Linked DNA regions of Homo sapiens: regions 2, 3 and 4 are each linked to region 1. Evidence: promoter capture Hi-C in 16 types of primary human blood cells and fetal thymus (Javierre and others, 2016). All regions are on one chromosome and are shown on one strand. The core of a region is centred on a gene start or on the middle of the fragment in contact, and the rest is flanking DNA. Distances in the headings are between cores, read along the strand shown. Region 1 holds the start of SP140 (SP140 nuclear body protein). Region 2 overlaps SP100 (SP100 nuclear antigen). Region 3 overlaps SP100 (SP100 nuclear antigen). Region 4 overlaps TRIP12 (thyroid hormone receptor interactor 12).

What was found. Contacts are between HindIII fragments. The CHiCAGO score rates a contact against its expected background, and 5 or more counts as called.
Region 2: a contact is called between a fragment that was not itself captured here and the fragment with the promoter of SP140 in region 1, in 2 of 17 cell types (total B cells and total CD4 T cells). The highest score is 6.2, in total B cells.
Region 3: a fragment that was not itself captured here is called in contact with the fragment with the promoter of SP140 in region 1 in 3 of 17 cell types (naive B cells, total B cells and naive CD4 T cells); the score reaches 7.3 in naive B cells.
Region 4: a contact is called between a fragment that was not itself captured here and the fragment with the promoter of SP140 in region 1, in 1 of 17 cell types (neutrophils). The highest score is 5.1, in neutrophils.

What each region holds. Positions count from the first base shown.
Region 1 is chr2:230,223,899-230,230,354 of GRCh38, forward strand. It overlaps SP140 (SP140 nuclear body protein), which reads left to right and starts at 1,838. Exons shown (of 27, transcript NM_007237.5): 1 at 1,838-2,005. The coding sequence starts at 1,947. It also overlaps a transcript of SP110 not described here. RefSeq lists enhancers at 1,718-1,927, 2,158-2,207, 2,278-2,357, 2,378-2,427. The HindIII fragment of the contact is 6,572 bases long and covers 1-4,095 here.
Region 2 is chr2:230,537,831-230,544,145 of GRCh38, forward strand. It overlaps SP100 (SP100 nuclear antigen), which reads left to right. Exons shown (of 29, transcript NM_001080391.2): 25 at 1,437-1,552; 26 at 3,046-3,166; 27 at 3,471-3,542; 28 at 4,062-4,205; 29 at 5,006-6,315. The coding sequence ends at 5,116. Among named protein-coding and RNA genes, the nearest start is that of SP100, 120 kb to the left of the region's middle. The HindIII fragment of the contact is 6,508 bases long and covers 1-4,786 here.
Region 3 is chr2:230,514,035-230,520,396 of GRCh38, forward strand. All of the region lies in intron 24 of SP100 (SP100 nuclear antigen), which reads left to right. It also overlaps the pseudogene HMGB1P3. Among named protein-coding and RNA genes, the nearest start is that of SP100, 100 kb to the left of the region's middle. The HindIII fragment of the contact is 4,574 bases long and covers 719-5,292 here.
Region 4 is chr2:229,914,543-229,920,877 of GRCh38, forward strand. The region is part of intron 1 of TRIP12 (thyroid hormone receptor interactor 12); the gene reads right to left. Among named protein-coding and RNA genes, the nearest start is that of TRIP12, 4.3 kb to the right of the region's middle. RefSeq lists an enhancer at 5,785-5,884. The HindIII fragment of the contact is 2,293 bases long and covers 3,002-5,294 here.

The sequences.
Region 1 (6,456 bases), core at 588-3,087:
TGGGGGAACAGAGCCAGGAGGCAGGCCGGAGCCTTCTGACTCCACTGGTCACGTGGCAGTAAAGGAAGACATTGGGAACCAGAGATGGTCTGATGGTCCTACATATGCCTGGCCCAGGAATCCCTTACCCAGGAGAGGTTCTGTAGTGAGCATAGGGAAAAACAAGATAGTGGGAAATAGAACTGAAATTTCAGGCTATCCTTACCTGGGCTAATGCATGGTGTTGCAAAGTAGGGCTTTCTAGTAGTAGCAGCAGTACCCCTGAAGTACCAATCTTACCACCAGTCAGCTGAGGAACACCAATGGCCTTGTGCTTATAAGCAAAAGAAGCTGGCACATTTTCAAAAATGTCCAGTTCATTGGTGTCCTGGGTCTGCCTACTGCCTAAGGGCAGAGAGAAGAGAGAGAGGGGATGCTGGAGCAGGCGGTATAGTCTGTACCAGGCCTTGTTGGAGCCCCATGGAGACTGGGAGGAGAGGACAGCTGTGTCTAACAGAAGCCCAGCATACTTTTCCTTCTTGTTTTAAAGAGGGAGGGAGAGGGAGGGAGAGAGAGGGAGAGGGAGGGAGAGGGAGGGAGAGAGAGGGAGAGAGAGGGAGACAGAGGAGAGAGAGGACAGAGAGAGAGAGAGAGAGGAGAGAGAGAGAGATACTGGAAAAGGTGTCCTCATCAGTGTTCTAGAGTTTGTCTCAACCAGATTGGTGTTTGTTCCTTTGGTAGAAAGAAAGCAGAAGTGTGGAAGGGGTAGAAATTTCTTGCACTCTGTATTTTGCAAACTTATGTATGCAAATTTCCTTGCATATGTGTAATGAACCAGAAAAAGTAGGATTCAGGAGCACATGTTTTGGAAAAATACTGCTTTGCCTCTGGCTTTTCAATCCTCACTACTGTTCTGTCACTGGCCCTGGATTCTACCCATACCCTGGCTCTCATCAGCCCCCTGTCTTTGACCCATTTTTCTGCCTGGATTTCTAGTCCTGTGGTTATATTTTTTATATTTGCCCTTTGCTTCCATTTGTTTATCACTCGACTTTATGCTGATATAGTGTGTTTTTGTAAATTGTTTCAAATCCTTTACAGAATGAGGGCTGGGTATAAATGAAAAATTGTGTGCAAACATAAATGTAATACAGCTATCCTCCTGTATCATATTGTCCTTGAAGGTCTAGATAATCTCAGCTCCAAACCCTTTCCCCATCCAGTGAGAAGGCTGTCACTCTCCTCAAGATTTCAGTGAAATGGTTGAAGCTCATTTTTTTCCCAGTCACCCCTGGCTGCTGTTGTAAAGTGCCCACATATTTGAGAAAACTTAGAATTGCACCTCATTTCTCTGCCCAACCTCAGCACTTGCCTTTGGCTGGAGGAGTTGAGAGAGTTGTCTTTTACCTCTGTCTGCTTTCATGGAGTGCTAAGAGCATCTCCCCCACTTTCTAATGCATGCTATTTCAGTTCTCCCTGGCCCCATGTCCAAACACTGGGCCTAAGCCATCCAGCCCAGGCTCACTAAGGTGCATGGCCAGCCCTGGAGCCTGACTGAAGATTTGAAATGTCTGGTCTTCACTTGTCCTTCTCAGCCACCTCAGCAAGGGGTGGGGACAAATACAGAGTTTACTTCCTCCTCATGATGCCACCTTACCTCAAAACAACTTTGATCTGCTTGAGTTGAATGACTTTTCCACCCTCTTTCCTTGGCAGGAACAAGTGACCCTGTCTTCCGTGGCCTCGTGGGGCTGGCTCTGCTCCTCCTCCCTTGACTGAGAGACGTCATGGAGATTGGGTGGAGGGAGGACTGTAGAGTTGGTGCACCCACGTCAGCTAGTTAGGCAATTTCACTTTTCTTTTCCTCTTTGACTGAGCACCGAGGGGCAGTTGGCAGCTTCACCTCAGAGCTGCAGGAAGGAACGGGGCAGTGAAAATCGAATCGGGTGTGATCCTAGGCCAAGCTCATGGCCCAGCAGGGCCAGCAGGGGCAGATGGCAAGTGGAGACAGCAATCTCAACTTCAGGTGGGTCATCGTCTCCTTTCCCGTCTGTCCTTCATCTCTGGTAGGGTTCCCTTTCATACTTGTTATTTAATGTCTACCCAGCTTCACTCTACAGGTATACAATAGAATTCAGTTACAAATAAATAACGAGGCAATCAGATTTTTTAAATTGCAGGGATTGGCTGTTGGAGAAACTCAAGGATGCCGTGACTCACATCATCTTCCTATTCTCTTACATCTGCAAATGGCTGGACTGGAGCTGTTTGAACATCATGCCTGTTCTGAGGCTTTGTGTAGGATTGGATGATTCCCCGTGACCTCTGAACCCTCTCTTCTCCCCCAGGCCTCCTTTATCCCCACTCCAAAAGACAACTCTGTCTAAAAAGGATCTTTTTAGAAGAATTAAAATCCAAACGCCTGTCTGTTGTCACACTTTCCAGGCTGTGTAGTTGGGGACCGGTTCTGCTCTGAGCCCATCTATGTGGCTCTTAGCCCTAGAATCACTTCAGGATCTCTGAATACTTGGTAGGAGGAAGTGAAAGCAGATGAGACCCAACAAAAAAGGCAAGCAGGTAGAGAGTGAGTGCTGCTTCTGCTTTTTTTATTCTTCTGTTCTGGTATTTTTTACATATCTGGTCAGAGAAGCCTGGAAATCATCTTTAAAAAATGTAAGACAATGAGACCAGTCTGACCAACGTGGAGAAACCCTGTCTTTACTAAAAATACAAAATTAGCTGGGTGTCATGGTGTATGCCTGTAATTCCAGCTACTCAGGAGGCTGAGGCAGGATAATCGCTTGAACCAGGGAGGCAGAGGTTTTGGCGAGCCAAGATCACACCATTACACTTTAGCCTGGGCAACAAGAGTGAAATTCCATCTCAAAAAAAAAAAAAAAAAAAGACAAGTACATCAATACGGTCATTTCTTCTTATCTGTGGATTCTGTATCCATGGATCTAACCAACCATGAATGCAAAATATTTTCTAAAAATTAAAAACATAAATAACAACAATAAAAAGTAATATAAAAATTTAAAATACAGTATAACTATTTGTATAGCATTTACATTGTATTAGGTATTATAAGTCTAGAGATGATTTAAAATATACAGGAGGATGTGCATAGGTTATATGTAAATACTACACCTTTTATATCAGGGACTTGAGCATCCATGGATTTTGGTATCCATGGAGGGTCCTGGAACCAATTCCCCCTGGATACCAAGGGATGACTGTACATTCTTGATAAAAATGAAAATGTGTGGAATGTAAAAATGTATGGAAACTTGTCTAATTGGGACTCTGTGCTAAGGCTACTTCTGGCGCTGGTACAGCCCCAAGAAAGCAAAAGCTATTGCTATTATCAGCAGTAGTGGTGGCACCAGACTGGTTTTCAGTGCCCAGTGCCACCACTCCCAGACAGGCATCCCTGTCATCTCTCTTTCACTTGCTCTCTAGTGAAGGGAAGATGAGCCAGCGGAGCTCAAAGTCCAGCCAGCCCATGGTCACCAAGCAGGAAGAAGACGGCACTGAGAGGTGACAATGGGCTAATGCTAACCTCAAAGAATGAGTTAGGAAGTGTTGCCTCTGCTCTTATTTTTGGAGGAAATTGGGGAGGATGATGTCATTTCTTCCTTAAATATCTGGTAGGATTAGCTAGTGATACCATCTGGGCCTAGTACTTTCCTTTCTGGAGGGCTATTAATTATCGATTCAAATTTCTTTAATAGATGTAGGCCTATTCAGACAACCTATCTCTTGTGCAAGTTTTGGTTAGTTTGCCTCTTAAAGAATTTGTTCATTTCATCTGTGACCAAATTTGTAGGTGTAGAGTCCATAGTTTTCCTTTATTACCTTTCCATTGTCCATGGAATTCGTAGTGATGACCCTTCTTTCATTCTGATGATTTCCGTCTTCTCTATTTTTTTCTTTGTTAGGCTGGCTAGAGGTTTATTAATTAACTCTTTGAAAAGAAAATCAGCTTTTGGTTTCATTAAGTTTCTCGAATGTTTTCCTGTTTCAATTTTTTTAACTTCCACTTTAATTTTAATTTTTTTTCCTGCTTGCATCAGGCTTAAATTGCTCCTTTTTTCTCTAGTTTCCTCAGATGAAAGCTTAGATTATTGACTTAGATCTTTCTTCTTTTCTATTGTATGCATTTAATACTATACATTTCCTTCTAAGTGCTGCTTTTGTTGCATCCCATTCATTTTAATAAGTTGTTTTCCTTTTCATTTACTTCAAAATATTTTTAAAATTCTTTTAGGACTTCTTATTTGACCCTAGAACTCTTTTGGTTAATCTGGAAATATTTTGGAATTTTCCAGCTATTTTTCTGTTACTGATTTCTAGTTTATGGTCTGAGAACAAACTTTTAGGATTTCTATTCTTTTAAATTTGTTAAGGTATGTTTTATGGCCCAAAATGAAGTACATCTTGGCAAATATTCTATGTGAGCTTAAAAAGTACATGCATTCTGCTATTGTTAAATGGAGTACCGTATAAGTGTCAGTTAGACCAAGCTGATTGCTATTGCTCATCAGGTCAACTACACCCTTACTGATTTTTCTGCCTGTGTGATATGTCAATTAATAAAAAAGAAGTGTTGAAGCCTTCAATAATAGTAGTGAATTTGTCTATTTCTCTTTATAGTTCTATCAGTTTTTGCCTCATACATTTTGCCATTAGTTTGTTAGTTGCATACACATTAAGGATTGTGTACCTTCTTGGAGAATTGACCCTTTTATCATAATGTAATGTCCCTCTTTAATCCCTGACAATTTTCCTTGTTCTGAAGCTTCTTTGTCTGAAATTGATATAGCTACTATACCTTTTCTTTGATTAGTGTTGGCATGGTATATCTTGCTCCATCCCTTTATGTTTAACCTATCTGTATTTTTATATTTACAATGACTTTCTTATAGACAACATATAGTCGGGTGTTTTGTGTTTTTTATGTACTCTGTTGATCTCTTGTCTTTTAATTGGTGTTTTAGACCATTGGCATTAAAGTGATTATTAATATAGTTAGATTAATATCTACCACATTTGTAAATGTTTCATTGTACCTATCGTTTTTATCTTTTCTTCCTTTTTTCCTGCCTTTTCTGGTTTAATTGAGCATTTTATGCTTCTATTTTCTCTCCCTTCTTAGCATATCAATTATACTTCCTTTAAAACATTTTTAGTGGTTCCCTGAAGTTTGTAATATATATTTACAGCGAATCATGCCCATTTTAAATTACACTATATCACTTCATGAGTAGAGAATACACCATGCAACTGAATGTCCCAAATTCTGCCCTCCTGTTCTTTTTAACATTGTGAAATGACTGACAATGTTAAAAAGAACAGGAGGGCTTCCAGTCATTCCATTTATTTATGTCCCATAACCACTCAATATGTTGTTGATTCTATTAATTTGAATAAATGGCTTCATTTTAGGTTAACTTGGAGTAGGAAAAATGAAAACATTTTATTATATCTGCATTTATTTCTTCTCTGGTGCTCTTTCTTTCTCTATGTAAATCTGAGTTTCTGGCCCACATCATTTTTCCCTTTGCATGAAGAAATTCTTTTTTTTTTTTTTTTTTTTTTTTTTTTTGAGATGGAGTCTCACTCTGTTGCCCAGGCTGGAGTACAGTGGTGCAATCTCGGCTCTCTGCACACTCCGCCTCCTGGGTTCACGCCATTCTCCTGCCTCAGCCTCCTGAGTAGCTGGGACTACAGGCGCCCACCACCACGCCTGGCTAATTTTTTGTATTTTTAGTAGAGACGGGATTTCACCATGTTAGCCAGGATGGTCAAGAAATTCTTTTAACATTTTCACATGGAGTAGGCTTTCTGGCAAAGAATTTCCTCAGTTTTTGTTTGTTTGAGAAAATCTTTATTTCTACTTTACTTGGAAGGTTAATTTCACAGGATATGGAAGCCTACATAGGCTTTTTTTTTCTTTCATCACTTTAAATATTTCTTTCCACTTTCTTTGCTTGCATGGTTTTTAATGAGAAATCTGATGTAATTTTATCCTTGTTCTTTCACAGGTAGGGGTTTTTTGTTTTTTTTCCCTACCCCCTGGCTTTTTTCAATATTTTCTCTGTCTTTCGTATTCTGCAGTTTGAATATAAAATTGTAATTGCCAAACTAGACTCTTCTTGTCCATTGCCCAGAAAAGCCACACATTGAGAATAGTAGGAGTTGCAGGAGAGAGAGAATTTAATAATCGCAGGGCCAGCCAAGCGGGAGATGTTTCTGAAATCCATCTCCCCAAGAATTCAGAGACTAGGCTTTTTAAAGGATAGTTAGGCAGACAGGGGGCTGGGGAACAGGGAAGTGCTGATTGCTTAGGTTGGGAATGAAATCACAGGGGGTTGAAGCTGTGTTCTTGTGCTGAGTCATTTCCTGGGTAGGGGTCACAGGACCTGGTTACCAATCCTGTGGTATTAGCTGTTCCATTAGAATGCAAGGTCTGAA
Region 2 (6,315 bases), core at 283-2,782, 310 kb after region 1:
ACAGTTCGATCACAATTGCCACAATTGTGTAGGGTCCATCAGAACCACCTGAAGGGCTTCATAGACCACAGCTGGCTAGGAGCTACCCCTAGGCTTCTGATTCAGCAAGTGAGAGGCAGAGCCCAAGGCTGTATATTTCTAACAAGTTCCAGGTGCTGCTGCTGCTGGTCCAGAGACCACTGCATTAGAGGCCAGAGTTCTCAACTATTGACTGCACATTAGAACCATCTGGACAATATTTAAGACATACTGATGCCTATACACCAACCCAGACTAACTGAATCAAAATCTCTGGTAATGGGGCTCCAGAGATGTTTTTTAATGCTCCCAGGGGATTCTACTGTAGAGCAAGTTGAGAACCACTTGTAAGCAAAAGAAAAAAATTCTTACTAAAAAGGTTAAAGAGACATACACCAAGTTTGCAGGCTTTCTAGACAATGGAACTTCAAACATAGGATTTGCCTGTGGTATTTATTCTTTCTTGGGGCCCACTTGCAGTGTACTTTATAGGATGATGTATCAGAAACCTTGACCCAGCAGCCTAAAAATAGTGGTCAGCATCGATGAGTCTCATCTGTTACAACAAAAAGGAAAAACAGTTACAAGGCCCCACTCCAGGGGAAGCTCAGGCACCCCCCTTGGAGATGTGCCCAAGAAATGGCTCCTAATAGGCCACTCAAATTCTGCCATTGAAAGGGAACACATGGGCAAGATATATCTTGCAGCCTAGAATTGTTTTTATTTATGTGACTTTAGTCTCTTCTTTGTATAGTGACTTTGTAGAGGAAGAGAAATTACAACACCTTACATGCCTAAGTCATGGGGACTCTTCCTCCAGGTTCCCAGAGCAAAAAGCAAAAAGCCCTGTACTCCCTGGTGCCCACCTGGTCATCTTGCCCACGGTTTTTCCATCCCAGAGGTACTGCTGCAGGCCCAGAGCCCTCCAGGAAAAGAACTGACATCTAGGAACTCCTCCCCCAAGCCCTTTCTTCAACTCATTCTTGCTATGACAAGAGTGTGGGTTGCAGTGATATCTCAGAAGTTTATTCCATCATATTAAATTCTCAGTAAATCACCCTTTGGCAAGTCAGTTTAAAGGATACGATGTAGACAGCTAGAAAAGACACTATTTCTGGGCCAGGTTTTCCCAGCTGTTTAATAAATTGCTCAAAAAATCTCTAATTCATCCTATTTTTGTCACTAGTCATCATGTCAGAATCTCTGGTTTCATAAAGAAAACTTTTCTGGCCTGACACACAGCCACTATCTACTGAACTTTGCCGCAGACCAAAATGTCTTCTGAGATCTCCACTCAGCAATCTTTAATATTTTGAGGACAGAAATTTACAAGTGTGCCCTTGATACATAAAAAGGTCACATATTCTAGGGTCCAAGGGTCTCACTGATCCCGGTGATGTCTACATCTCCCCTTCTAGCCGGAAAACTCAAATATATGTGAGGTGTGCAACAAATGGGGACGGCTGTTCTGCTGCGACACTTGTCCAAGATCCTTTCATGAGCACTGCCACATCCCATCCGTGGAAGCTAACAAGTGAGTAAGACATGTCCCCTTCCCTGAGCCCTTCCTTCTTGTGGTACAGCTCCTCCTGCCACTCATGAGTACTCTGCAGAGTTTCTGTACCTGGTTATGTGTTTCTTGATGCATAAGGAGCAGGCTCCTTAGCATCAAGATCCACAAGTATTATCCAGAGCTGTTGAACAGTGCTGGTAGCAGCAGATTAATGGGAAGCAAAAACTCTTCAAGTGGTTATTGAGTGCAATAGTAAGAGGTGTCAACTTCTACCTCCCCTACTTGGCTCCCAGACCCATGCTCTCTAATGGGGTGATGCCATCATACACTGCCTGCTGGTTTAAAGAGTACACCACCTGCTGTGGGACCATCACACAGCTGGTAAAGCCAGTGCTGCAGCAGTCTATCAAGCCAACTGACCCTGGGTCACAGGTCACATGTTGAGACCTGTGAATTCTGCAAGTGTGAGTCCCCTGCTCACTTCCTTTGCTAAAAAATGTGCCTTTGGACAGAGGTGATGGTGTGCAGGATACCACGGAGATTGATAAGGTGCTCTGTGAGTGGTGTGTGGACAGAATTGTTAAGGCTGAGAGGATGATCTCTACCGGGAATGTGTCTGACTCTATGAGGGCAGAGCATTGCCCTTCCATAATGGAGGAGGCTAATGTGACCCACCTGCTCCCAGGGTGTCATCTCAGGGGATCAGCATAAACCTCTGCTTTTGACCAGTTGGCCAATCTGCAGAGGCAGAAGAAAAACCAGCTTTTTGGTTGAGCCCTTGTATAGCCCCTATCTCTGCACCAGAGATGCAAAGTGCTCTCAAAGGAGCACTTTGTAACAGGCTCCTTGAGCAAGCACTACATGGCCAAGGGGATGCTGGCATCACTAGGATGGGTCATTGTGCTTGCCTGATTATCAAAAGCCTCCTAGCACAGACAGCCTAGTAGAGAAGGTTGGAGAATGAATCTAGGAACAAATGAAAGATATCTGACACCTCTCTGGAGATTTCCTTTTCAAGAAGTTTCTGCAGCACAGATTCTAGGTATAAGATATGGCAGGGCCAAGGGAGAGGATGCCTATAGCCTGTGCTCTCTGCTTACTCAGCAAAGTTGAGAAACAAGAACTTGTTTTCTGATTTTTCTGTGATCTGATTGACTCATAGAGGCCCAACACTTTGTGCTTAAGGTACTCATTTCCATTAACTGTAGCAAACCGTGCTCATTATCAAGTTCCCAGTGGCTCAGATGGAAACCCTAAGTTTTGAGGTGAATGAGATTCTGTCACTCATGGGGCACTTCAGCCAACAGATGATCACCCCTGCTATCACTATTGGTGGGAGGGCATGCCTTTGGCTATTGAGTCCAAATGGGGCTCTAGTGCAGAGGCCTCCAAGAGAGAAGTTGGATACAAGGTGGAAACCACTAGGCATTCTTGAGCAGAGGACTTGAACAACTGTAGGAATGGCGGCTGATTCACAGAACCTGCCATTGCTCACTTTATGCCCCATCTCTCAGGAACCCGTGGAGTTGCATCTTCTGCAGGATAAAGACTATTCAGGAAAGATGCCCAGAAAGCCAATCAGGTCATCAGGAATCTGAAGTCCTGATGAGGCAGATGCTGCCTGAGGAGCAGTTGGTGAGTAAAAATGTGAACCTGAAGCCTCTTCCTTTCTGTTCACCTGGGCAGGAGAAGCACAGTCTTACAAAGTGCTCAAGGAATGGAGCCCAAAAGCAAACTGCTGGCCTATGGTGTGCTTTGCTCCATGACCTAACGCTACAATTCATATTCCAAAGAAAAATCCCGGTCCAAAGAAACTCCCCATGCCATGTTTGTTTCAAAGAGTCCACAGGTTTGGGAGTCGTGTGTTCTCTTTGGGCAAGCATATGAGCTCTTTCTCTCTAAATTGCATTTAATTTGAAATGGCCTCCATCTTTTGCAGAAATGTGAATTCCTCCTCTTGAAGGTCTACTGTGATTCGAAAAGCTGCTTTTTCGCCTCAGAACCGTATTATGTAAGTAACAGCCAAACAAAAATGCTTATACTGGCATTTGTCAAATCTGTGATCTGAATCCCATGGCACAAGGTGCCATTCTATTTGGCTTGTTGATGAGTTTTTAGTTCAGGCTACTATAGAAATTTATCATAGATTAGGTGGCTTAAACAGCAGAAATGTTTTTCTCACGGTCCCGGAGGCTGCATGTCCAAGATCAGGGTGTCAGTAGGGTCCGGTTCTGGAGAGGGCTGTCTTCTAGGTGTCAGAGACGACACAGGGTTGCTCCCTGTGTTCTTGAGTGGCAGAAAGAGAAGGAGAGAACTCTCCAGAGTCTCTTTTATAAGAGCCCTAATCCTATTCATGAGGGCTCCACCCTTCTTACCTCATGACCTCCCAAAGGTCCCACCTCCTAGTACCTTCACAGGGGGGTTAGGATTTTGACCTATGGATTGGGGGAACTCCACAAACCTTTATTCCATAATAGTGGGAGTCTATGGCACTGGGCTGATAGCCTCATTTTGGTCTTTTACTCAACAGAACAGAGAGGGGTCTCAGGGCCCACAGAAGCCCATGTGGTTAAACAAAGTCAAGACAAGTTTGAATGAGCAGATGTACACCCGAGTAGAAGGGTTTGTGCAGGACATGCGTCTCATCTTTCATAACCACAAGGAATTTTACAGGGTGAGTGGCTCTCCCTGCTTCCTTTTCTCTTTCAATTACATCACTTTAAAGTCACTTTCCCTGTCATCTTTTCATGTCAGGTAAATGTTACAATCGCCCTTATCATATGACAAGCCCATACAAGTACAAATCCTGGAAGTATCCTAAAAGCCCTGTAGTGCATGTGGAGAAAATAACAACAAACTGGAAGGTGCCATTGCAAACATGGTCCTATATATAACCTCAGAGTTGACTCATTTCTAGATGGTTTGTTTTCACCCATAGAGAACAGTAGGCTGCAGACTCATTTGTTTCTACTGGAAATAGAAGTGCACTTTAAAGGCATTTAAAGTGTTTCTCTTCTCTAGAGGAAGATACCAAATCAAAGGTCTCAAATGTCAAAATATTGAATTTCTTTACATCTGAACTTCCTGGCACTATTTCAGAAATTAATAAGGATTATGTCAAGGGGTGAGAGTAAAGGGAAAAGGAAGACATTATTAAATGGCCTTAAACATTTCTGTACTATCATAAGGTTACTCAGAAAATGCTGTGCATAAAAATCACACAAGTAGAATTTTTAAAAGTTAAATTAATCCATAAGCTTTTGATCAGAAATTAGATTTCAGTGTAGTAGTATTTTGACTTGTCTTCCAGATAAAGATAAATAATTAAATTATCAAGGAACATAAGCAACTCAAGTAGATTAATTCTCACTTAACATTTGGGATAACCTAAAATGAGGCCCCAGATTATCTGCAACACTGGGTGTCTCAGCTCATTGCATAACTGCTATATTGTTTTTTTCTTTGCTTTTTTAGGAAGATAAATTCACCAGACTGGGAATTCAAGTACAGGACATCTTTGAGAAGAATTTCAGAAACATTTTTGCAATTCAGGAAACAAGCAAGAACATTATAATGTTTATTTAGCCATTCTTATCTCCTCCCTTCAGATCCTCTGGCAGCTAGCTACGCAATGTGCCTGTGGTCCCACTAATCTGTGACTGCTCCTGTGGAAACTCCACATCACAATTCTCCAAAATTTATCATTGCCATTTTAAAACCGTCTTTTCAGCTTTCAATAAAATTCAACACCCCTTCATGTTAAAAATTCTCAATAAGCTAGGTATTGAGGAACATATCCCAAAATAATAAGAGCCATTTATGACAAACCCACAGACAACATTATATGGAATGCGCAAAAGAAGCATTCCCCTTGAAAACAAGCACAAGACAAGGATTCCCTCTCTCACCACTCCTATTCAACAAAGTATTGGAAGTCCTGGTCAGAGCAGTCAGGAAGCAGAAAAAAATAAAGGGTATCTAAATAGGCAAAGAGGAAGTCAAACTATCCCTGTTTGCACACAACATTGATTCTATATCTAGAAAACCCCCTAGTCTCAGCCCAGAAGCTCCTTCTGCTGATAAACAATTTCAGAGATGTTTCAGAATACAAAATTAGTATATGAAAATTACTAGTATTCCTATACACCAGCAATAGCCAAGCCAAGAGCCAAATCAGGAAGGCAATCTCATTCACAATTGCCACTAAAAGAATAAAATACCTAGGAATACAGCTAATCAGGGAGGTGAGAGAGTTCTACAATGAGAATTACGAAACACTGCTCAAAGAGATTGGAGATGACACAAACAAATGGAAAAACATCCCATGCTCCTGTGTAGAAACAGTCAATATCATTAAAATGACCATACTGCCCAAAGCAGTTTACAGGTTCAATGTTATTCCTATCAAACCACCAATGACATTCTTCACAGAACTAGATAAAACTATTTTAAAATTCATACAGAACCAAAAAAGAGCCCAAATAGCCAAGGCAATCCTAAGCAAAAAGAACAAAGCTGAAGGCATCACGTTACCCCACTTCAAACTATATTACAGGGCTTCAGTAACCAAAACAGCATGGTACTGGTACCAAAAAAAAAGCCACATAGACCAATGGAACAGAACGAAGAGCACAGAATAAGACCACACTCCTATGACCATCTGATCGTCGATAAAAACAAGCAATGGGAAAAAGACTCCCTATTTTATAAATGGTGCTGGGATAACTGGGATAGAAGATTGAAGCTAGACCTCTTCCTTACACCATATACAAAAATCAACTCAA
Region 3 (6,362 bases), core at 1,756-4,255, 290 kb after region 1:
GCAAACAACTTGAAAACACAATAGAATAAAGAAATTAGTCCTAAGAGTAACCAAATGAACAAGTCATCAATTTATAGTTGCTGTTGCTTGTTGAATACAAGCAAACAACTTGAAAACACAATAGAATAAAGAAATTAGTCCTAAGAGTAACCAAATGAACAAGTCATCAATTTATAGTTGCTGTTGCTAGTCTTCAGACTTTCATAATTTTACTTTTCTTGGAAGAAATAAAACAATGAGTGATTCACAGCATTAATAATTGACTAGCAGAAATATAATGCACACAAAAATTATAATCAAAAAGAGAATTTGTGTACAAGAATGGGGGAAAAAAAACCTGTTCCATTAGGGAGCCAACTAAGAAAGAAAATTAAATCCAGGTTCTTCTTTAGAGACTTATTATAGCCAGGAAATAATTAAGTCCAAATTGCAAGCAAATAATAATTTTTGAAACTCAAAAATAATGGTCTGGGCTAGAATCTAATAACAACTATGCTATAATTTTCTTCTGAAAGATAATTTTTCTCTCTTCGATCTCCCTTTTCTGCCAAAGAAAAATCATAGGCCAATTTTATTTGCAATATAAGTTTTAGTCTTATTGTACTTGACCTGATTATTTATATAAAAGGCAACAGGAATAGTGATTGTCCATATAGACTCCTTTTAAGTTGGCTTTGCTGGAACTTTTTCGTTAGACATTTTAGATTAGACTTTCAAAAGCTTCTTCAGGCTAGAAAGCCAAGCCAAGGATTTATCATCAGATTGTGTCTGCACTACTTGTAAGAATTGGGTAAATTCCTCCTTTCTTGAAGTCCCCCAAATACCTCAAGGTTTCTGGGCCTGTTGGGAAGGGACATTACTTAACACGAGGTCAAAAAACCTACAAGAGATTGCAGTACATTGAGCTCCATAGAGATAGTGCTGGCGCAAGTGAGAGCTGGACAGGCCCTGGGCGACTCTGTACCTTGCTGAGGAAAAATAACTAAACATGGACAAAGCAGATCCTAAGAAGCTGAGAGGTGAAATGTTATCATATGCATTTTTTGTGCAAACTTGTCAGGAGGAGCATAAGAAGAAGAACCCAGATGCTTCAGTCAAGTTCTCAGAGTTTTTAAAGAAGTGCTCAGAGACATGGAAGACCATTTTTGCTAAAGAGAAAGGAAAATTTGAAGATATGGCAAAGGCGGACAAGGCCCATTATGAAAGAGAAATGAAAACCTATATCCCTCCTAAAGGGGAGAAAAAAAAGAAGTTCAAGGATCCCAATGCACCCAAGAGGCCTCCTTTGGCCTTTTTCCTGTTCTGCTCTGAGTATCGCCCAAAAATCAAAGGAGAACATCCTGGCCTGTCCATTGATGATGTTGTGAAGAAACTGGCAGGGATGTGGAATAACACCGCTGCAGCTGACAAGCAGTTTTATGAAAAGAAGGCTGCAAAGCTGAAGGAAAAATACAAAAAGGATATTGCTGCATATCGAGCTAAAGGAAAGCCTAATTCAGCAAAAAAGAGAGTTGTCAAGGCTGAAAAAAGCAAGAAAAAGAAGGAAGAGGAAGAAGATGAAGAGGATGAACAAGAGGAGGAAAATGAAGAAGATGATGATAAATAAGTTGCTTCTAGTGCAGTTTTTTTCTTGTCTATAAAGCATTTAAGCTGCCTGTACACAACTCACTCCTTTTAAAGAAAAAAACTTCAACGTAAGACTGTGTAAGATTTGTTTTTAAACCGTACACTGTGTTTTTTTGTATAGTTAACCACTACCGAATGTGTCTTCAGATAGCCCTGTCCTGGTGGTATTTAGCCACTAACCTTTGCCTGGTACAGTATGGGGGTTGTAAATTGGCATGGAAATTTAAAGCAGGTTCTTGTTAGTGCACAGCACAAATTAGTTGTATATGAGGATGGTAGTTTTTTCACCTTCAGTTGTCTCTGATGTAGCTTATACAAAACATTTGTTGTTCTGTTAACTGAATGCCACTCTGTAATTGCAAAAAAAAAAAACAGTTGCAGCTGTTTTGTTGACATTCTGAATGCTTCTAAGTAAATACAATTTTTAAAAAACCGTATGAGGGAACTGTGTAGACAAGGTACCAGGTCAGTCTTCTTCCATGTCTATTAGCTCCACAAAGCCAATCTCAATCCCTCAAAACAATCTTGTCATACTTGAAAATATGACACTCTAGTCAAAGCCTTGGTAAAATAATCAGTGTTTCCAATCTGTCCTGTTACAAAAGAAACAGATTATTATTGAACTTATGCAAATAACCATTGTCATAAGAATGTTTATGAATAGTTTCCAAATTATGGCAAATTCATGTAGAGAGAGAAAAGTAACTGTTTTGGTTTTGCTCACAAAAGTCTACTTTACCTAAGGGCTGTCAGATATAAGTAACTTAAAAGAAAGAGAAGTTTTCTTGACTTTTGAAAACAAAATATGAAAAGAATCGGCAATGTTTCAAACAAAAAGTCATAAAAGTCACTTTATTCCTCCATCAATTTAGTCTCATGTAATTCTTATTTTGCTGGTGTTGGGTTAGCAATCTTCATGAAGACATCAGTTTTTCATTAGAGTTCTGGAAGTTTTATCTAGTCTAACTATATGATCTCCAAAGTTATCAGAAACCTATGTTCAAGAGTACTTGCCAGAGCCTTTTCCATAAAAAAGCAATTTTGGATTATAGTTGACTTCAAATGCTTGTAGAGAAAATTTTAAAACGGTAACTGTGGATGTCAAAAACTTAGAATAGCCATGGTTAAAATCTAATAGAAGTACCCAATTGACAAGGAAATTTAGATATTTTGATTACCTGCAGCATTTTAAGATAACAACCAGAATCACGACTGATAGTGTCCCATTAAAACTATTAGATTTTTACAAATGTCATATACTCTTTAGGATATTCACATTAATAACATATCTATACAAATATTACTTTAGAAAAGACTTAATCAAAATTATGACTGATAACAGATTTTTATAAATTTATATAATTTGGGGAACATTTTATCGATAACATACTCATAAGTGTAACTGAAGGAAGATCTAGTATTATGTATCATTTGACAGTTTCTCCCATACAATTTACCAAATCAGTCTAATCATTTAATATCTCTGCAAGAGGAGAGATACATTCTTTCAGGTCCCTCAGAGGTCCAACTGGAAAATAGCAAAGTAAATTTTAGGCCAAAAAAACAATTTAGGATGTTGATCTTGGGGAAACCTGCCAAAGATGTAGAAAGGTATAAAACACTTGATCAAAATGGAATCACAGATCATTGTAAAATAATAATTATTCATTTAACCAGAGTTATAATCAAAAGACTTCAAAAGCAATACAGAAAGTTGTATGGATGTAAAAATCTTAGCTCTTTTAAAGCTCAGTTTTCTTGAGTAATCAAAAACTTAATAAAGACAATACAGGAATTATCTCAATAAAAATAAGTTTTGGGCCAGGCGCCATAGCTAACACCTGTAATCCCAGCACTGTGGGAGGCCAAGGCAGGCAGATCACCCGAAGTCAGAAATTTGAGACCAGCCTGGTCAACATGGTGAAACTCTGTCTCTACTAAAAATACACAAAAAATTAACCAGGCATGGTGGCATGTGCCTGTAGTCTCAGATACTCAGGAGGCTGAGGCAGAAGAATCGCTTGAGCCCAGAAGGCAGAGGTTACAGTGAGCCGAGATTGCACCACTGTACTCTAGCCTGGGCAACAGAGCAAGACTCCATCTCAAAAAAAAAAAAAGTTTTAAAAAGAAAGAGATATCAGAATTAAAAATCAGTATCTTTTAATTTTATTAAAAGCAAAGCAATATTTTAAGCAAACTTTGTTGTTCTAACATAGGGGACCAAATTTTTTGTTTTTTATTAGTTTATTTTTAATATCAAATCTCAATCTTTAGAAAGACTTAGAATTTCCTTTTAATTATAGCCAACTTGATCATATACAAAATTTATTTCATAGGGTTTCTTTTCACAAACCTTATTATGACTTAGACTGTTTGCGAAACGCTTGGACTTTTTGCTTTTCTCTGTACTTTCTTAAATAACTAGACATTTTACTTTAGAACAAAAAACTTACAAGACTTTTTTCTCATGCAAAATTATTCTCTTTTAACCTGTCTTACCAAAAATATTTATAACTTTCTTCGCTTTTCTCTCTCCTTCTTACTGGTTCCTTTCTTTATTGCTCCTTATTTTAAAACAACCTTAAATAACCCCTGAATTAAACACAATTACTTTTTCTCAGTAAAGAACATATTTTTATGCCTTCTTATAATTTTCTGTCATGAAAAACACATCTTACTTTTTTGACACATTTTAAATTTAGAATTATATATATTAATTAGAATGTTTAAACTTTCAGTAACTTTAAATTTTATTGAAAACCTAGGAAATAAGAAATCTTGAATTGTCTATCACATGACAGTATCTTACAAATGAGAACTCTTTTATAATTTTTAGAAACATTTTCCCATAACAAAAACATTTTTTATCTTAATTGGAATTGACCTAGACGTTTAATGAGCATCTATTTTTGAATTTAATTTAGCAAAACTTTAAGATTATAAATTACATTAAAAGTTTATTTATATATGTTTATCCCATTTACATTTATTTTTAACAGTTTACCTAGATTACTTATGAAAATTGATATATTAGACAAAGCTAGTCATCATTTCAAGTTATTTTCCTGTCAACCAATTTTATAGCCTGTGAATATCAGATGTTCACTTAAGAAAGAATCTTAAAGTTAAATATATGAGTATTTTGCTGATAACTTAGAAGATAGTTGTTTTATTAAAGCAAAAATATTTAATCAGTCATACTTATCAAAAGATTTATTCAAGTCATGTGAACTTAGATGTTTGGGACTACTAATTCCTGAGCATTAATGTATTTATAAGTCAGTCTGTTACTACAGAGAGGTTTTATAGCTTTGATTTTAAAATTTTGGTCATGAATCAGGTAAATTTCACTAGTTTTAAAAGGAGAATTGAATTAAATTGTGCCTTTCAAAATGGTACAAGTTAAAGTTATCTGTCCTACATGACTGAAGCCCTTAATGAGTGTAAAACATTTATATCTCAAAGCACAGAGAAAGAATTTAATCCTTCCATATGGCTAATGAAGTTTTACATTTCCAAGGGACTGTGAAGTCCAGCAGGGCATTTAAAGGGTATTGTCTGATATTGGATAAAGAGTTTAATTGGGTTTACTTCCACTTTAATGGGGGTGGTTGAATATGTTTTACCAATGTCAGTGGGAGATTGGGAGCATAAGTGATCCAGCAAAGCTTGCAATAACTCATCGGTGTCATTCGTTAGTCTTGGGTCAGAAAAAATTGTTGGTGATAATTGTGATAATTTTAATTGTTTCATTTTCATTCTTTAGTTGTTCTGTTTGCTCCTTCTGTTCCAAACGTAAATACGTTTTCCCCCTTTTGAGAGAAGGAAATGTGTGTATTGTGACATTCCAAAAATCTCTACCTAAGAGACAGATGGGAGCCAAGAGAACAAGTAGAAAGGAATAAATTCAGTTAAGGAAGAATATGAAGGCATAGGGGTAGAAGGAGGAGAAGAAATTGGAATGAAAGGGAGAAAGCTTCTGAAGTCTTTTTCAAATCAGAAATAGTGTGGGATGGCCTTTTGCTCATCTCTTCAATGAAGGCCATTTTTTTTCCCCAGAATTTCTTTTAGGAGCATCTCACTGCTATCAGAAGTAAGTCAGTTTGTCTGGTTCTAAAACCAGCTTTTTCCAATTGTGTATGGTAATACATCAGCTTAGGCATTTTCAAAAGATCCCCATTTTGGCCACTGCTGCTTTTGACCATCCCGGGTTACATGGGTCCACTTATCTAAGTACTTGCAAGAAGAAGGACTCTAAGTGTTACACATCAAACCAGCTGGTGCTGATAGAGGCAGTGTACCCTGAGTCTTAGAAGACATGTTTCCCATCTTGGTTGTTTTGAATGAGACAAGTAATGTAGTGGATTAAGTGTGGTGGTTTTGAATTTTTCTTCCCCGAAATTTCACTCAATAGGCTGAAAAGATTATCTTACATGTCTCTGATTCCAGAGTCACCTCCAAAGAAGTTTCAGGGTATTCATGGACAAGAGATAATCAGTTTTTATGAAGCTTGCCAGCTGAGCGAAAAGTTAACAGTGTGGGGATTTTCCTATGAGACTGCTCCATGTTGCTGGGGGTATGCCCTGACACCTCCGCTATTGTGGGTTTCCTAAAAACCATTTGGTCACAGACAGAGAATGTTTCTTAACTTCAGAGCAAGACTGCCCTCCCTCATGCACTCAAAAATGAGAAAGCTAAGGAAAGGTTGTCCCATCCAAAACCTTGAGAGAAATAAT
Region 4 (6,335 bases), core at 2,898-5,397, 310 kb before region 1:
CAAGAGATGGGCTACTGTGAAAACTCACTTTAGGTTTCCAGGGCATCGCACATGTTTACCAGTATAAAATCTTTAAATTAAGTTCATCTGACCTTAAGAACACAGCACAAGGTACATCTATTTATTCAGAGCACTGCCCACGGCTAGAGTGAGTAGGAGTTTTGAAGTCAGGGTAGAACTCATTGGTTATGACAGCCAACAAGTTGATTAAAATACACACTGAAATGCTGTAACTTCAAGTCTTGAAGGCTTGTTGATGGACACTTAGGCTTATAAATAGCCTTCAAAAATCCATGTATGGGTAATAACACCATATTTATAGAAATATGTACATGCTCTCTAAAAAGAAACAAACAGAATAAACTACAATGATGTATACTATTATAAATTGGAAACACTAATCATTTAGCACTGCATTAAAACATATTGGCCAGGCACAGTGGTTCATTCTTGTAATACCAGCACTTTGGGAGACCAAGGCGGGTGTATCACGTGAGGTCAGGAGTTCAAGACCAGCCTGGCCAACAGAGTGAAACCTGTCTCTACTAAAAATACAAAAAATTAGCTGGGTGTGGTGGCAGGCACCTGTATCCCGGCTACTCGGGAGGCTGAGGCAGGAGGATTGCTTGAACCCGGGAGGCAGAGGTTACAAGTGAGCCAAGATTGCGCCACTGCACTCCAATCTGGACAACACAGCGAAACTCAATCTCAAAAAAAAAACTTATTTAGGTCCTCAATGTACTTTATCAACTATTACATGCACATAATGGTCAATTAAAGAGTAACAAAATGGCTTGCCCTAATTCTTTTTAAAATGTATGATTTAAAGTAACTTGCAGTCTCCAAAATATATACTGACTAAAAGTCTCAAAGTCATTTTAGCATTAACGATGCAAAATAAGAATCAAAATTTTAAAAATAGGACATTAAGCCATTACAAAATATTTCCACTTACAGTATCTTATTTTATTTTCACAAGACTTATTCTGTCAACAAACGCTTAATCCCTATCATGGGCCAGCTACTGTGCTAGATGCAGAGATAAAAAGGGACACTACTTGGGATTAGTGTCCTTATAAAAGTTAAAAAAAGGGTGAGGGCTAAAGACTTTAAAGAATTCATAATCAACTAAGGAATACTATTGTATACTAAAAAAAAAAAAAAATTTTTTGAGACAGGGTCTCACGGTCACCCAGGCTGGAGTGCAGTGGCACAATTACAGCTCAGCACAGCTTCCATCTCCCAGGCTCAAGCAATCCTCTCACCTCAGCCTCCCAGGTAGCTGAAGACTACAGGCATGTGCCACCATGCCCAGCTAATTTTTTACTTTTAGTAGCAACAAGGTCTCTACTAAGTTGCTCAGGCTAGTCTCAAACTCCTGGGCTCAAGTGATCCTCCTGCCTCAGCCTCCCAAAGTTCTGGAATTACAGGCATGAGCCACTGGGTCAAATGTTTCAAGTAGGATACCTATGCATATAACAGAGGTATGTTCGAGTTAAAAGAGTTTTAACAAATGAGGCAATGGTCCACAGTACTGTAAACAAGTGGAGAAAGGGCCTTGTGTTCCAATTCATCTGTGGAGCCTAATCTAAATACAGAATGTCTAGCATATAAATGACAACTGACTCTACATTAGGTGGTAATAATCAAATTTTTCAGATTAGGCACTTGAAGCTCACAAAGTACTAAGTTAAATTATTTGCCCAAGGTTACAAAGATGGGAAATGCATAGCCAGGATTGGAACCTAAGTCTTGCCTTCAAATCAGATAATCACTTGAACAGTGCTATTAAGGAAAACACACAGTAGCAGGTATTTTTCACTCTAGACCATTTGAATGACTTTTTAAATCAAGCATAACCATGATAGCCAAGTGTGGAGGTGCCCGTCTGTGATCCCAGTATTTGGGAGGCTGAGGCAGGAGAATCACTTGAACCTGGAAGGTGGAGGTTGCAGTGAGCCGAGATCGCGCCACTGCACTCCAGCCTGGGTGACAAAAGTGAGACTCTGTCTCAACAAACGAACAAGCATAACCATGAAACTGACTACTGCCAATAGCTTCTGCACTCTCAAGACAAAGCAGGTAAGCCTGAATAATGGGTAAGTTCCTTTTTCTTCTATCCAATTCAGTTTAATGAAATCACTGAAATCACAATAAACAACCAAAATCTAAAAGGCCTCAGAGAAAAATGACTGAACAGACTTATTTCAGTCTAGGAAACCTCTTTTTGCCAATAACCTAAAACTATCAGTAAGTTAGGATATTAAAGAACTACATTTTTAAAAAACCCAAGACATTAGCAGAGTTAAATTTTACTTAAAAAAAAAAAAAGAAAAATCAAGGGACAGGTCTAGCATCGGTATACTTATCTATTTATTACAAATAACAGCAAGCATCCATTATGCACAGAGAAACCCAGCAGAGAGGTAGAGAACAACTGCTTTGAGGTTATGTCTTCAAGTCTGTAACACAGCTGCTGAAATGATACACAAGTACCAAAAGAAAATACACAAGTAAAGCTTACATTACACTACACGTTAAGAATTACCAAGCACTGGCCGGGCGCGGTGGCTCACGCCTGTAATCCCAGCACTTTGGGAGTCCAAGGCGGGTGGATCACGAGGTCAGGAAATCAAGACCATCCTGGCTAACAAGGTGAAACCCCATCTCTACTAAAAATACAAAAAAATTAGCTGGGCGTGGTGGCTGGCACCTGTAGTCCCAGCTACTCGGGAGGCTGAGGCAAGAGAATGGCATGAACCCTGGAGGCGGAGCCTGCAGTGAGCCAAGATCGCGCCATTGCACTCCACCCTGGGCAACAGAGCGAGACTCTGTCTCAAAAAAAAAAAAAAAAAAAAAAAAAAAAAAAAAAAAAAATTACCAAGCACTAAGATTATATACAACAATCTAAAAATTATATTTATTCTGTAACATCCACCAGATTTTTACTCTTCCACCCTATCTGGCCTGGACTCTCCTCAGGCTTGGCCTTATTAACTAAAGCTTGGCCTATGAAAAAAGTGGCACAGAATAATCCACTGGCTTAACACTAAAACATGGCAGTGACAGTTGATATCCATCCAGGCACTCTAATGGCACGTTAGTCAGGGGAGATGTGAAGAGGCCCTGATCACTGAACCAACCAAGAGAAAGCATTCTGAAGAATCTGCTGGGGTCAAAGAACCCTTCCAAGCAGGTTGGAGTCCAGTGGCATGATCATAACTATTAACTTCAAATCTCTGGGTTCAAGCAATACTTCCGCTTCAGCCTCCAAAGTTGCCTAGAACTACTGATGCATGCCACCATGCCCAGCTAACTTTTTTTTTCTTTTTTGTGGAGACAGTCTCACTATGTTGCCTGGGCTACAACTCCTAGCCTCAAGCGATCCTCCCACGTCCTCACCTCCAGTGCCACCTCACCCAGACCAATCAGGTTTATTAGTATACCTTCACACATACCACATTGACATGAAATCATCCTTGCCCTCAGGAAGCCTACAGTCCAATCAGGGAAACAAAAGCAACACATGTCAACAAATGCAATACTGTAATGCAGAAACGAAGCAAGTACAGTTAATCAGAAATACAAAGATCACAGGTAGAAACTTGTTCGAGGAAGTGATCTGAAGACATGAGTTGTAAGTTGTTCTTCACATCCTTTATCTTCTATGTTTTTCTGTACATAGTGGGTGCTTGCTTGATTTAAATGAGGGAAAAGTCCATGTCAAACAGGCAATTGCAAGGAATGATTTCAGTGAAGATTAAAAAACCAAGTAGGTTGCTGTTTTGACTTGAGTCCATCAAATAGCAAACAAAAAAATAAAGGAGCAACTGGTATCACATTTGCTCAAAAAGATCCCTACCCATCCACTTAAAAGGGGGGAAAGTTCCCTAGGTTCTGTAAAGAAAACAGTGACCAAGATTCAGAAGCATTATTCCCTAATTGTAATCTCTTACATTAAGTCAATTTCATTAGAGTCACAAACCAGAACAGGTACTTTGTCAATAAAAAACGTAAATGAATTTGAAGTTTCTTTAAACATATTAACAAGTTTTTTCAGTAGAATGTATGGCAAACAAGTATCTGGCATGCTGATACCAAAAAAAGAAGGTAACTTTAAAAAGACAAAAATGAGACCCAAATTCTACTACCAATTAAGCAGCAATTTCAAATTATGAAGTTCTATAACTCTGTACCTTCAACCTAGTTTACATTAATTCTCCCCTGCCCCATGGACCACCACGACTAATGAGAAGCTGTATCTTTTAAAAATGACCTCAAAACAGCTCATGTAATTTTCTAAAATTAATTTATTTAGCATGTTGTTTTTTTTCAGTCATTACATCTGTTGGGTCTCACAACCACCCAGTGAGGTAAAATAGAGATTACCCACTCCCATTTTACAGATAAAATAAATGAAGACCAGATAGGTTAAGTGACTAGCTCAAGGTCACAAAGCTACTAACTGGTAGTGTGTGAATTTCCAAGCCAGTGATGTTTTCCTTGCTAAGATGAAAACCTTAAAATAAAGCAGGATATTAAAACCTTGTCTAGATAACATAAATACAATAATCTTACAAGTTACACTGGGGCCGGCGTGGTGGCTCTCCCCTGCAATCCCAGCACTTTGGGTGACCAAGGCAGGCGGATCACCTGAGAGGTCGGGAGTTCGAGACCAGCCTGGCCAACATGGTGAAACTCTGTCTCTACTAAAAATGCAAAAATTAGCCGGGCGTGGTGGCGCGTGCCTGTAATCTCAGCTACTCAGGAGGCTGAGGCAGGAGAATCGCTTGAACCAGGAGGCAGAGGTTGCATTAAGCCTACACTGCACCACTGCACTCCAGCCTAGGCGACAGAGCAAGATTCTGCTTTAAAAAAAAAAAAAGTTACAATGGGAAAGGAATCATACATGGAATCATACATTACTACAAATTTACTTTGCCAGGTGAAAGTACTGATTTTACCGTGATCTACCTAGCATCCCATTCGTTTTTTAAATGTAACTACTTTAGTTTAGCACCTTCTGGAACCTAACTGCCAAAATTGTTCTCAAACTTTTTGAAAGTAAATGAAAAAAAAAAAGAAAAATAAAGCCTGTTCATAGACTCAAACTAAGTAGTATAAATGTCAGCTGAACAGACTTAAAAACTGCTCACACTCCAGAAAAACTGGGGATTGAATGGAAACAATGATAATCTTAATTACAGTTTTCCAATTCTTATGGATATTGGCACATTCATAGAAAGGCAGACATGTACAAAGCCCACAAACCCCAATCATATTATGTACTCTTAAGCTTAAAATAAAACTCCCTCAATCTCACAAAGATAGTCACAGCAGTTCAACATTTCTGGGGCTGAACACACAGCAGGAAGTGTCAAAAGAAAGAATTAGAAATTCTGTATACTTTAAAACTTACACTTAATATTGATCACTTTGCATGTGGTAAATATGAAAATCAGCCTCAATAAAATCCTCTACAATTTATTGTCTCTAAACCTCTGCTAATTCCATTCCTCAACCCCCCCGGGGTGTAAATGCGACACACACAGGCCTCATATACAGGCCTCTTGCCTTTTTTTCTAACACAACTAGGACCTTTGTTCTGAGCGTCGTTTTACCCCACTCAATAGCTCTTTCAACTTTCTACCCCGTATTTTTTGTTTTGTTTTTAAAGAGGAGACTCTGAGACTCAACTTGCTAGGTCTTTAAAAAATGAAATGCCAAAAATACCTAATGAGACTCTCGAGAGGAACATAAAGTTAAACACATCACTAAAGGGCCTACAAAACGGAGTAAAGCCCGGAGATCGGGTGATCTGGCAGCCCAGGCAAGATCGAGGACCGCGACTAGGAAAGGAGACAGCAGGAGAGCAGTTAGACGTCCACTTAGAACGGATTCACTGCGCTATTAACCGTACCCGCCTCCCCCCGCACCGGCCCAACCTTTACACACAAACACATTCCCTCCCCCAATTAACTAAAGAAGCAATTAAACTATGCCCACCACCAGACTCGATGCTTAGGCTAAACCTCCCCCAAAGTAAAACAGCATTATCAAAAAAACACAACATTTGTCTTAAGGGTTTGGAAGCTGCCCCTTCCGTTATCTCCTCACCACGTAAGGTAACCAATTCCCTCCTGTCCCCCACCAGGAGTTCAAAGTGTGATTTCCCCCCGATTTACATGTGTTTTTATGTTTTTCCGCATTTTTCCGTCTAGGAAATGAAGGATTTCTTATTCTGAGGAAGGGAGAGACGCCGAGGAAGACAGGATTTGAGGTTTTACTACCTTCGTTATTCGAACTCCCCTCTAACTTGTTCCTGTACTAGAAAC